Linked DNA regions of Homo sapiens: regions 1 and 2 are each linked to region 3. The links are contacts of gene promoters, found by promoter capture Hi-C in blood cells and fetal thymus (Javierre and others, 2016). All regions are on one chromosome and are shown on one strand. Each heading gives the region's core, a stretch centred on a gene start or on the middle of the fragment in contact. The rest is flanking DNA. Distances are from core to core; before and after follow the strand shown.

What was found. The method cuts DNA at HindIII sites, captures the fragments that hold promoters and counts their contacts. A CHiCAGO score of 5 or more calls a contact.
Region 1: a contact is called between a fragment that was not itself captured here and the fragment with the promoter of OGFRL1 in region 3, in 2 of 17 cell types (M2 macrophages and M0 macrophages). The highest score is 5.9, in M2 macrophages.
Region 2: a contact is called between the fragment with the promoter of SDHAF4 here and the fragment with the promoter of OGFRL1 in region 3, in 4 of 17 cell types (naive CD8 T cells, total CD4 T cells, total CD8 T cells and 1 more). The highest score is 9.0, in naive CD8 T cells.

The regions. Positions count from the first base shown.
Region 1 is chr6:70,389,781-70,394,130 of GRCh38, forward strand. All of the region lies in intron 2 of LOC105377847 (a long non-coding RNA gene), which reads right to left. Among named protein-coding and RNA genes, the nearest start is that of LINC01610, 2.2 kb to the right of the region's middle. The HindIII fragment of the contact is 833 bases long and covers 1,503-2,335 here.
Region 2 is chr6:70,565,546-70,570,106 of GRCh38, forward strand. SDHAF4 (succinate dehydrogenase complex assembly factor 4) reads left to right here and starts at 1,385. Exons shown (of 3, transcript NM_145267.3): 1 at 1,385-1,459. The coding sequence starts at 1,396. RefSeq lists a silencer at 1,673-1,732. The HindIII fragment of the contact is 5,796 bases long and covers 686-4,561 here.
Region 3 is chr6:71,285,569-71,290,060 of GRCh38, forward strand. OGFRL1 (opioid growth factor receptor like 1) reads left to right here and starts at 3,243. Exons shown (of 7, transcript NM_024576.5): 1 at 3,243-3,602. The coding sequence starts at 3,369. All of the region lies in intron 3 of LOC124901339 (a long non-coding RNA gene), which reads right to left. RefSeq lists a silencer at 2,896-3,955. The HindIII fragment of the contact is 6,418 bases long and covers 244-4,492 here.

The sequences.
Region 1 (4,350 bases), core at 669-3,168, 900 kb before region 3:
ATGGAATATAATATTGGGCAAAAGAAGCAAGACACAGTAACATAAATACTATGATTCCATTTATAAAAGTTAAATACAGGCAAAACTAAACTATATTGCTTGGGAATGCATAGTTAGGCAGCAAAACTATAAAGCAAAGCCAGGAATTCAGGAATTCTCTCTTTCTTCTCTCCCCTTCCCCTCGTCTTCCTAGAAAACAAAAACACCAGGGTAGTGGTTTCCTCTGAAGGGTACCGAGGGGTTTGCCCAGAGGAAAGGCACATGAGTGCTTAAAAGGGTGCTAGCCTTGTTTTACTTATTGACTTGGATGGTGGTTAAATGGGTGTTGCCTTTAGAATAATGTGCCAATTTTTTTTGTTGTTTTGTGCATTTCTATTTTATATACTGTATTTCACAACAAAGTTTTAAAAAGATTTTTAAAAGACACATTTAGTAGATAAAGCTGAAGGGAGTTACTCAACATTCCTATTATAGATATTTGGTTGTCTCTCCACGTGGACTACTAAGATAATGGAATTCAGCTGCACAGTGGGTCTATGTAAATATCCATTTGTGTACTGACAAAGAGGACTCATGCCCTGGAGCTGTTGTGATGTTTAACTGAAAGGCATTTGATCAGAGGTTGCCAGGATCCATTAGACATTAAATATATCATCAACCTAATTACATATGACTTACTAGTTCAGTGCTGATTATATCCGAAATCATCAGAGTCTTAAAAATAGTCATGCTTGTTTGTCCCAACAATGTTTTCAACCATAGTTTCTGTGGTTCCAACCACATATGGAGAAATAATATATGTCCTCACGGGGAGAAGAGTGATTTCTGAGTTTTAAAAAGTCGAAGGTTGTCATTTTGCCACTTTGAGAATATCCCTTGATCTAGTTTGATCTATGTATGTTCCACCTAGAGACTAAATTAAAACTCTAGCCAAAATATTAAAGGATGGAAATATAGTCCATGACTGTGGTTTATCATTCCATTATTAGAATTGACTAGCAGTATTTTGACACCTAGATAGGACTGCTTTGGTGTGTCTAGGTGTATTGTATTATTTAAGTTACATAATATTAGAAACTTAAAATAAAAACAACTTGGTATCAGAATTGGTGACTGAGTTCGAGTTTGGTATTCAGCTGTTTCCATGCAACTGAATTGTTAAAATGCTTACAATTTCCTGTGATTTATTTTCTAAAGCAAGAAAAGGGACCTAACATTAATATGCCTCTTTTAGATTAATTAGATTTACTTTAATGAAATATACAAACAAGAAAGTATAATTTATATGTATAGTTTAAAGAATAATAATAAAACACCCATTTACCTACCATACAGCTTAAGAAATAGAACATAACCAAAACCTTCATTTCCCTTTCTCCCCCATAAGAGGCAAATGCTACGCTACGCTGAATTTTGTGAATATCATTCCATGCTTTTCTTTGCAGCTTTACCACGGGTATGATACATATAATTATGCATATTGTTTGGTTTACCTGTTTTTAAGCTTTATATAAATGAAATCATGTGGTAGCATTCTTCAATAACTTTTCTTCATTCATTATTGTACTTTTGAGATTTATCACATCAGTAAATGTATCTCTACTTCATTCATTTTAAATGCTATATATTCAGTATACCGTGACAGCAGTATCATATACTTTCAGGGCACTGCCAATATTTCTTCAACAATTGCCATTTCCGTATACACCAGCCCTTCACCTGCCAATGCCTCCATTTTTTGCCTGAAGGCTTTCTCTGGCCATCAGTGACTACTCAGTCTGAACACACAACGGGCTGAAAATACCAAGGAATTAACGTTTCTCGGGAGCAGTTCTCAACCAATAACTTGGATAAACTGGAAGTAAGTGTTGTAAACTGTCCCCCAGAGTTCCCCAGCAGGATCAAACTCCAATTGCCCACAGTGATAATGTGATAACACACCTTTATTGGTTTTCTTCCCATCTGTTTAACTTCCCCATTATCTACTGGTGTTTCTTGGGAACATATCCCAAACAAAACCCTTTCCACTCATTGCCACAGGTCTGTCTCTGGAGGCACACAAACTAAGACAGCAGGGAAATTAAACTTAAGAACCTCCAAATACCTGATTCTGCTATGCCTCCAAGATAATGTAGCCATGCTCCAGATTTCTTCAGGGATGTCTGAGAGTTAAGCTCCTCTCAAAATCCAAAATAGGAAACAGAAATAAAAGTCCTCGGCCTGTTCGGCCCTCACTTAGTTAGCACATGTAAAACTGAAACACAACTTTCCTGAATCTCTTCCTTCTCTCTCTTTCTTCTCTCCCCTTCCCCTTTTATTCCTAGAAAAATAGACAAGCTTTTCTTTAACTTTCCCTACATCCTGTCTTCCTTCCCGGTTGGAAAGCAAGCTTTCTGAGTTCACTACCATTGACTGAAGGGACATCCTTTCTATACTACGGTAGAACTCTGTGTTCTAGGTCATCCAGGCTCAGCCCTGGGTATGTTAAGTAGGAAAGATTAAGGAATTTATAAAATTCTCTCTCAAAACTTGTATACATTTATTTTTTAATTTCAGAAACTATCACTTGTCTTTACCTTTAATTCTTTCTGAAACATCCATTTCCCTGGTAGAGGTTAGACAGTAAAGAAAAAATACATAGGAGAAAAAAGGAAACAAAAGGCAAATGAAGAACACAAAATTTCAGGACCTATTCATAGAAAAATAGGCCAATTTCAAACAAACAGTTCTCCCAAGACTCAAAGAAACTAAAGGCAAGTTGGCTTTCCTTAAAAAAAAAAAAATTATCCTGAAAGAATAACAAGAGATCGATCAAAAGAGAGATGAAGCAAGAACAGGAGATAAACAGTGGGTGTGTGGAGCTCAGAGATGAATAGAAGCATAAGATGAAATTATTACAGAGGTGAAATTCTCATTAGAGTCAACAAATGGTAACACATATATATGGATAAAAATACAGTCTAGGACAAAAAGAAAGCCCTTGAGTAAATAACATAAAACGAATTGGAAAAGAACAGAGATAAAATAAGAAAGGAGGTGGTATGGACATTAAACAAATAATCACTTTCATGGAAGAAAATAATATATGGAATGGGAAAAATTCAAATATATAATTGAATATAATTTTCTTGAAACAAAATCTCAAATCTATAGATTACAAAGACATAGCTTAGCCAAATTCCTGAAAATGTTGATGAAGGCTAATTAGTAAGATAACTTAAAAATGGATTTAGAGCAGCAGGTTGTAAGAAGTTACACAGCAGAAAAGAAGCACATGAACCAACTCTACCAAAATGAGAAAGAATAGGAGGAAATGAACTGAAGAGGTATTTAAGATCCTGGCATTTAGTAAGCCGACCATGGTATGGTTGTTAAGAGGCCAGCGCTGTAAACTGCCTAGATTTGGATCCCATCCCTGCCGTTTATTACCTGTGTGACCAAAGCAAGTTATTTTGCCTCTTGGTGCCTCAATTTTCTTAATTTTAAAATGGAGGTGATATTAGCCACCCACATAACACAGTGACTGTGAAAATTGAGAAAATACATTTAGTCTTCTTTAAAAAATGCCTTTCATATTCAGCATTGTCAATTATTATTAAGTTCAACAGAGCTTGGTGATTCTCTGAAGGTGAGAGAGTAAGAGACAGGGAAGACACGAGTTGATTCCTAGGTTTCAGGATGTGACAATCATAATGCCATTCACTATAGAGAGAATACAGAACAAGGGTAATACAGAAGAAATGATTTTTTTTAATTCTCAATTGATATAGTCCCCACCCAAACCTCATCTTGAACTGTAGTTCCTGTAATTCCTATGTGTCGTGGGAAGGACCAGGTGGAGATAATTGAATCATGAGGATGATTTCCCCTATCCTACTCTCGTGATAGTGAATTAGTTCTCACGAGATCTAGTGGTTTCATAAGGGGCTCTCCACCAACGCTCTGCACTTCTCCTTGCTGCCACCATGTGAAGAAGGACATGTTTGCTTCCCCTTCTGCCATGATCGTAAGTTTCCTGAGGCCTCCCAGCTATGCTGAACTGTGAGTCAATTAAACCTCTTTCCATTATAAATTATCCAGTCTTGGGTATGTCTTTATTAGCGGTGTGAGAACAGACTAATACATCAATTATAATGGATTCATTTTGAACATGTTAAGATTGACTTATCTTTGAGAAGATAGGTAGAGAGGTCCTGTGGGCACCTAGAACTCACCTAGGGCTGAAGGCAGGTGTACATGGCTTTAATGTGTGTGCAGAAGCCATGAATGTGGATAAGATCTCCTTTGTGATGTACATAATGAAAGAAGAAAAAGGGCGAGAACTGAACCTGTGGAATATTCCCATTTATC
Region 2 (4,561 bases), core at 135-2,634, 720 kb before region 3:
ACATGTGCCTGTAAAAACATAAAATACATAAATAAGCTAAATTATGCATGCTGGAAATAATTTTTTTTCCCTGTTCTGTTCCTTCAGGGCCTCTGTTAAGTGGGGCTCTAAATATGAAAAGCAGTCAGTTGCCAGCTGGGCCAGTTTATTGAGCAAAGCCATCATCCGACTTTGAATTTTTTCCTCAGTCAGCTAGTCACAAGGAATTCATTATTAAACTGTAGATATAAGCTAAAGGTCAAAAGCATGATATTAGGACTGTGAGCTCCCTACAAATGAAAACTGTTTCCGTTTTGACTTTGGCCCAGTTCTGTGTATCCCACTTTCTCTCTTTTTTCTTTTTCTGTTTTTGAGATGGAGTTTTGCTCTGTCTCCAAGGCTGGCGTGCAGTGGCGTGATCTCTGCTCACTGCAATCTCCGCCTCCCGAGTTCAAGCGATTCTTCTACCTCAGCCTCCCAAGTAGCTGGGATTACAGGAATGTGCCACCTCGCCCGGCTAATTTTTGTATTTTTAGTAGAGTGTTGGCCAGGCTGGTCTCGAACTCCTGACCTCAGGTAATCTACCCGCCTCGGCCTCCCAAAGTGTTCGGATTACAGGAGTGAGCCACCTTGCCCGGCCCACTTTCTCTTCGTAAAAGGATCTCCTTATCTAGGAGAACCAGATAATTCTCAGTTCATGATAAGAAGCTTCGATCGTATAACCACTTGATGTCACATGGTCAGACACTACCAAGGCGCAATAGCTAGCCAGAAACTTTTCTTTAAAAGAAAAGACAAAATTCCAGAATTCTGGGGGCCTTCACTATGATTCTGTAAATATTTCCACGAGTTGCACAAAGCATCCAGGTCTGCCACATCCACTCAACGCTATCAGAGCTGGTGGGATGTAAGGGTTAAGGGGCAGAGCTCATTGCACTGGATCCTGGCCTGGATGGAGAGCCTTTTCTTGCTTTGCACCTCATTCAAAAATGTCGCCTTTCATATCATCTGGTTAGTCGGTCAGAATGGACGAACTAGGAGCTGACTGAACAAAGATTTAAAACACAAAACAGGGAGAATTAGGTAAAAGAAGCATTTTACATGAGTGAGAGAGTAAAAGGTGCTCAATCTTTGTAAACTATAAAAGGGATCTTCCACGGGCCATTTCGGCTCAGACTGACAAGCATGAACGGAACGGAATTATTCCCTCTTCTAACTGCAGCCACGATTTGGCGTTTTAACACCGGGCTCAAGGTAGCCTGGGTCTCTCTTGGCCAAAGAGCCCAGGGATGCCTCTAACTCCTTTTCTAAAGCCGGCCACGGAGGCCCCGCCCTCTGCAGGGAGGCTCCGGATCATGCCCCCTGCTCCTCCCACTACTGCTTTGCGCCTGCGCGGAGGCTCGGGGAGTCGGCGCCATGACCCCATCGAGGCTTCCCTGGTTGCTTAGCTGGGTCTCGGCCACGGCGTGGAGAGCGGCAAGTAAGCACCTGGCCTCGGGGCCACGGTCGCGGGAGGGGTCGTGAAGGCCCAGGCGCAGAGAGAAGCGCCTCCCGCGGAGGAAGCCGCGTGTGTCCTGGCCGTTCGGTGTTGCCAGGGGCTGCCCAGCTTCTCCCGCCCAGCCGCCCACCCGGTGGCCTGGGCAGGTTCCTGCAGCGCCCCGGGTCTCGGGTGGGACTAGAGCGAGAAAATCGCTAAGGCCCTTTCAGCCCCCGGGACGTCCGCTTCCTACCGAGCACGCGGTGGCCCAACAGGACCACAAACGTTCCGGGTTGTTCCTGTGGGAGCTCGCAGGGCACACCGCACTTCGATGCCCCAGAGAAAAATGGAAAAGAAGGCCCTTTGGGAATGGGAGTCATTGATTTACTTATTTATTTACATCATTATTTACAGGAATCCGCGCTCCTGGTCCAGGCTCCAGCAGAAAAGGATTTGTGGCAGTTTACAGTTTATCTTTTAAAAATGGGAAAAGTGCAGAAGTGAGCCAAAGGCAAATAAGTATAACGTAAATTAGATGAAGCCAGGAATTGTCAGTACAGAAAAAGCATTCATGCTTTCAGTAAAACCAACATTTTTAAACCCATTGTTGTTGGAAATTTTTCTCAAGATAATACAGTTAGCAGCCCAGACTATGCAAAACATAATTTTATTTATTTATTTATTTATTTGTTTATTTATTTTGAGATGGAGTCTCGCTCTGTCCCTCAGGCTGGAGTGCAGTGGCGCAATCTCGGCTCACTGCAAGCTCTGCCTCCCAGGTTCACGCCATTCTCCTGCCTCAGCCTCCTGAGTAGCTGGGACTACAGGCGCCCGCCACCGTGCCTGACTAATTTTTTGTATTTTTAGTAGAGACGGGGTTTCACCGTGTTAGCCAGGATGGTCTCGATCTCCTGACCTTGTGATCCGCTCGCCTCGGCCTCCCAAAGTGCTGGGATTACAGGCGTGAGCCACCGCGCCCGGTCCGCAAAACATAATTTTAATATATGACACCTGGAGAAGTTATGTAAGTTGAAAACAGTAATTATTGCCCTCAAATGGTGCCAGATTTCTATGCAATTTGTTTTCCTTTGTGCAATCATTTTACCCAAATACAAACATTTTACTTAATTGTATAAGTTTTAAATAGTCCAGAAATGAATAATACAGAAAGTGAAAGTCCTACATTATCCAAACCTCAAGGTAATAACGTTAAAATTTTGTAGGGTTCATTCAACATCCCCCTTTAACTAGTTTTAAACAATTATGAATTATTCCATATATATATATGTATACACACACACACACGTAGCACACATGTAAGCTATGTAGCAGTCATGTAAGCTATGAAGCACAACCAGCATCTATGAACTTATACTCCAATTTAAGAAATAGTCTCTATTGCCAAGGAGGTCTCTATTTGCTGCTTCCTGATACAACTGTGCAATGGTGTTTTTAATCTTTATAGAAATGTTTTCATATTGTTGATTTTTTTTCAGATAACGCTGTGTTTTGTGATTGAGTCACATTGACGCATGAGGTTGTAGTTATTCATTCAACTGTGTGAACATATGATGCATTTTCCAGTGCCCTTCTCAAAGGACATTTGGGTAATTCCAGAAACACTAGGATTGGGTGCTACACATTCTTGTGTACCTTATTTGTGCATTAGTGGAAGGAGTAGAATTCCTGGAGTATGTTATAGGTCTTTTCATTGTTACAATATAATGCCAAGGTGTAACGGCATTTTCTAATTCTATAGCAATTTTCACTTCTACCAGCAGTGTATTGGAGTTCTGTTGTTCCACAAACTTGCCGAAACTTAATTTTGCCTTAGGTTTTAATTTTTGGCTGCCTACAGGGAAATGAAATGACACCTCATTGTGATTTTGCTTTTCTCTGATTAAAGAAGTAAAACATCTTTTCAAATATTCACTTTTTGTGAAATACCTCTTTCTTTTTTCTTTTTTTTTTTTTTTTTTTTTGAGGCGGAGTTTCGCTCTGTCGCCCGGGCTGGAGTGCAGTGGCGCGATCTCGACTCACTGCAAGCTCCGCCTCCTGGGTTCACGCCATTCTCCTGCCTCAGCCTCCCGTGTAGCTGGGACTACAGGCGCGCGCCACCACGCCCGGCTAATTTTTGTATTTTTAGTAGAGACGGGGTTTCACCGTGTTAGCCAGGATGGTCTCGATCTCCTGACCTCGTGATCCGCCCGTCTCGGCCTCCCAAAGTGCTGGGATTACAGGCGTGAGCCACCGCACCCGGCCTCTTTTTTCTTTCTTTGTTTTTGAGACGGAGTTTCACTCTTGTTGCCCAGGCTGGAGTGCAATGGCGAGATCTCAGCTCACTGCAACATCTGCCTCCTGAGTTCAAACGATTCTCCTGCCTCAGCCTCCCAAGTAGCTGGTATTACAGGCGCCCACCACCACACCCAGATAATTTTTTGTATTTTTGGTAGAGACAGGGTTTTGCCATGAACTCAGGTGATCTATCAGCCTCGGCCTACCGAAGTGTTGGGATTACAGGCGTGAGCTGCCACGCCCGGCCTTTTTTCTTAACAGATTGCTTCTTATTTATATTCTTTACATATATTTGTATGCTAAACCTTTTTTAGTTACGTAAGTGTCAAATACCTCAATTTGTGGTTTGTTTCTGTCACTGCTAGGCAGAATAGAATAACGGGTCTGCATGTGTAATCATGCAGCTTCAATATAAAAGGTATCTTAATAAACAGATGTTTATAATTTTATCTATAAAATTTTGTCTTGATCCTTTTGTTTATTGTGACTGCCTTGTGGTCTTGTCTAAGAAACCCTTCTGTACCCTAAAGTCATGGACATAATCTCTTATATTTTCTTCTCAAAGGTTTATAGTTTTGCTTTTCACATTTAAGCCTTTATTCTACCAGGAATTGATGGTTTGTATATGGTGTGAGGCAGGAAACCAGTTTTCATTTTTTTTCATATCAAACACTTGTCCCAGGTTCATGTATTTATAGGACCTTTCCCCTACTGATATAATGCGAGCCATCATAAATCAAGTTTACTTATACATATAGGCATACGTTTATTTCTTGGCTCTTTTCTCAGTCCCATTGACCTATTTGTCTA
Region 3 (4,492 bases), core at 1,993-4,492:
TGTTCCATACATGTGTATATTACTGTTGAATTATATGTTCTTTAAAGACATATTGAATGAATCATCATTACAGCTAACATATATTGATAAATTAATAGATGCCTGGCACTGAGCTAAGTGATGATTTTTATATGAAGCAAAGGTACCCTTCTTTACTGTTGATGCAGGAATGTTAAATACTCTGCAAGGCAGGGATAATGAAAAAAGTTTAGGTATTCGAGAAGGATAATTCCTGTGTATAGAAGCTTGGGATGACAGAACTTCAGCATTAACTTGTAAAAATAACACATAGATTGGGCACAATGTGGTCGTGCTTATTGCTCTAAACTTAAAATTGATTAAATATTATATAAGGTTGGTGTTACGCTTCATGTAAAATTATGTTCTTTAGAAAATATATTGCAAAATCTGGCATATCATCTATGGTCCTATAAAAATTGACACATTTTTCAAAAGGTGGTGTAAAAGGGAAGGATTTAATTGCAGTAGTTACTTAAATGTTTATATGCACAAACACAGATACTTCTCACCATTCCATCATCTACTGATGTATAACAAACTACTACAAAATTTAGTGACCTAAAGCAACAGCCATTTTATTGCATTTCACTCTTCTGTGGGTCAGAAATCTGAGCAGGGCTTTGCTGGGTAGTCCCTTTATTCCAAGTAGGGTCGATGGAGGTCACTGAAAGGTATTCAGATGGTGGATGGGTTGGTCTGGAGGATTCAATAAAAAAAAAAAAACAAAAACGTGGAATCCAGCAGGGGATACTGGAAGGTAGGCCTCAGCTGGTACCATGACCAGAGGATGACCAGAGGCCACACACAAGTGGCCTTTCTAGGAGTATGGCAGTCTCAAGCTAGCTGAACTTTTTACATGGCAGCATGGGGCTAACAGAGAGAATATTCCAAGAGACCCAGTGGAAAATGCAAGGTTCCTTATGGCTTAACTTAGAAAATCCTGGACTATCACTTCTTTCATATTCTATAGTTAAGCAAGTCACTGAGGCCAGCTCCTTCAAGAGTAAGGAATAAGACTACTTCTCAATGGGAAGAGAGCAAAGAACATGTGGCCAACTTTAATCTACATACACCTAAACCAACAGATGGAGCGCCTGGGACACAACAACTATCCTTAGACTTTCCACATCAACAATCTCGGAACACTTAAGGCTGGATGGACAATATCTACTTCTGCAATGTGTTCCGGTCTTCTACCAACGGAAAATCGAATTCCCAGCTTTGAGCAGTTGGATTCCTGTGGTATGTGGCTGCCCCACATCTTCTTCTGCTAAGCCATTATAATCAAAAAGTATTTTTTTTGGCGGGGGGTGGGGGCAATGGAGTCTCACTCTGTCGCCCAGGCTGGAGTGCAGTGGCCTGATCTCAGCTCACTGCAACCTCCACCTCCCGCGTTCAAGTGATTCTCGTGCCTCAGCCTCCCAAGTAGCTGGGATTACAGGCGCCCGCCACCAAGCCAGGCTAATTTTTATATTTTTTTGTGGAGATGAGGTTTCGTCATGTTGGCCAGGCTGGTCTTGAACATCTGACCTCAGGTGATCTGCCCGCCTCGGCCTCCCAAAGTTCTGGGATTACAGGCGTGAGCCACCGCACCCGGCCCCAAAAGTCTTTTTGTGCACCCCGTGTCTATTTCTTATTAGTTTCAGAGCTTTTCCCAGTCATAGGATCACAGAAGGTCAGAGCTGGAAGGGCTCCCAGAGATCTGGTTTCATTTTACAAATGAGGAAGTTTAGGTTCATGTGACCTACTTAAAGTCAGAAACTGATTAGTGACAGAGCTACAGCCTAGATGTCTTGTTGCAGTGCATGAAGAGCTTAGGTAATCCTGATTTATCCATGGAATAGGCAGCTGGTTTACCTGATTCTTCCCTTAGAAACAGTCCATCTAACATGATTTGGCTTCCTACTTCATCATGAAACATTTGAAAAGAAACTATTCATTCCAAGTTCAACAGTTTAATCTTCAAATATCTAGCTCATCTTTCTTAGTCCATATTTAACAAATGTTTACTGAGCATCCACCAAGTTGACAGCACTGTAAATACAGACACACTTTCAGACGGGGGCTGCCTGCAAAGAGGCTTCCCTTCTAGTTAGAAAGCCAGAAGACACATTTTACAACAGTCACTTTTCTCTGGGTCACATATTTGATAATACTACCTTATCTTTACGTACTTCTATAGGCTTATGCCTGTAATCCCAGCTATTGGGAGGCTGAGGCAGGAGAATTGCTTGAAACCAGGAGGCGGAGGTTGCAGTGAGCCGAGATCGCGCCTCTGCACTGCAGCCTGGGCAACAGAGGGAGACTCTGTCTCAAAAAGAAAGAAAAGAAAGAACAGAACAACAGAACAGAACAGAACAGAACAGAACAGAACAGAACAGAACAGAACAGAACAGAACAGAAAAAAGAAAGAACTTCCCTAACACAGTTCTCCCTCCTCCTTTCATTTGCAGAACAGACCACAGGGCCGAGGCTTCTTCCATTAGAAACAGCCCATCTGTTCTACTGATTCTGAGATTTTTGCCTACACGGAGCACCAATTTGTAGTGGGTGTAAGGTTACCCGCAAATCAATGTGATGGTCCAGTTGTTACTGTTCCTTTTGTTTCACGAGCGATTGCTCATTAGATGAGGTGACTGATAGCTCTGACTTTTTCTAGACCACAAGGACTCTAGGTGGCTGCCCTAAGTACAGTTGTGGCAGCTGGGATTTCCTGTTTATATGGTGCCCGGCACCATCAGCTTTTGTCCTCTGCTGCAGCTAAAGTGTCTTCCTCCTGGACCAGGGAGAGGGGGAGGGGGTGTGGACAGGACCCGCCTGCTGACGGTGACACCTCTTCGACACCACGTCCACGCCAGTCCTCAGCTCCAGGAGCTGGGCGGGATCCCTCATCCCGCTCAGCTGGGAGATGCCCCGGGAGGGCGTCCCCCGGCTCCGGGCGGCGAGGGTAGTAGCCGACCCCAATCCACTCCGGGGGCCGCCGGGGGCCGCGTGAAGGCAGGTGTTCCGGGGAGAAACGTGGAAGGGAGGCGCGGCCTGGGGCCGGTGGCGCTCGGCTGGGGGCCGCAGTTGGCTCCCCTGGGGGCTCTGGGCGGCGGCAGCTCCCGCCTGTGGGGAGGAGAAGGAGCCGGATGGGCGGGTTCAGGCGCGCGCGGCGGCGGTCCCGGGGCCGCCGGCTCCTCCCCGCGAGGGTGCCTGTCCGCCGCTCGCCGCGCTGAGGCAGTGCGGGGCGGGCGCGCCTAGGCTGCCGCCCAGCGCCCTCGCCGCGGCCATGCCCGGGCCCTAGAGCGCCTGCCGCAGCTTGCGCCCCGCAGCCCCGCAGCCCCGCGCCCGCCGCCGCCTCTTCAATGGGCAACCTGCTCGGCGGGGTCAGCTTCCGCGAGCCCACCACCGTGGAGGACTGCGACTCCACCTGGCAGACCGACTCGGAGCCCGAGCCCGAAGAACCAGGGCCGGGCGGCGGCAGCGAGGGCCCGGGGCAGGAGTCCGAGCAGCCCGCGCAGCCCCCGGAGCAAGCCGGCGGGCGGCCCGGCGCCAGCCCCGCGCCGGACGAGGACGCCGAGGCGGCGGGCGCCGAGCAGGTACGCGGCCCAGCGGTGGCCTCGGGTCGGGCTGGGGCGCCCCGACACCCCAGAGGGGCAAGTGCCAAGCCGCCCTCGCGCTCGGAGGCCAGGGGCGCCAGGTGGCTGCTCGCCGCTGCGACCCGACCCCTCCGCGCCGCGGCTGACCTGTCTCCCGGTGGAGCCCGGGGGCCTGCAGGAGCCCAAAGCGCCGGACCCTCCCACTGCCGGCCTGGGGCCTGGCCGAGGGCACGGCGAGGAAGTCCCTCAAGGCAGAACCCAACTTGAATGGGTGTTTTCTTTGCCTCTGCAGAGCAGCTGGATTATGCGAAGGTGGGGTGGGAGGAACCTGTCTAAAAATAGAGGATTTTGACAACCCCTCTAGTGTGTGTTATTGGTAAAAAAAAAAAAAAAAAAAAAAAAAAAAAAAATTACTCAGAATAAGGTGGGGCTACAAGTGCAAGCAGCCAGCGCTCTCCCCTACAGTGGGGTCTAAGCCGTCAGAAGTGTAGGCCCTCATCTGAAGTTCATACGTCACTGTTCTGCCCAACTCAGGCCTTTCAACCTAGGATTCAGGGCATTCTTCACGAATCTTATTTCACCAGAAGACTTGTTGATCCAACTGTGTTTGAACTGTTTGACTAATACAGCTTGGAGGAGAGGTTAGTCAAGAGATAAGCCCCTTAACCTCTGATGGACTGAAAATAATCAGGAACTTTAAAAAGGAGGAAATATGTAGCCGACCCCCTGAAGAAGTGTGCATCCTGGAGGTGGTTCAGGTTTGCCGCTCCACATTAGGCCCTTCTCTTTATCAGCTAGGGGCGATGGAGATTGGGAAAATGGAGCCCAAAGTCCAATGTGACCACAGGGTTTTGGGGGAATCATAACCTAAATATTACAGCTAACACCGC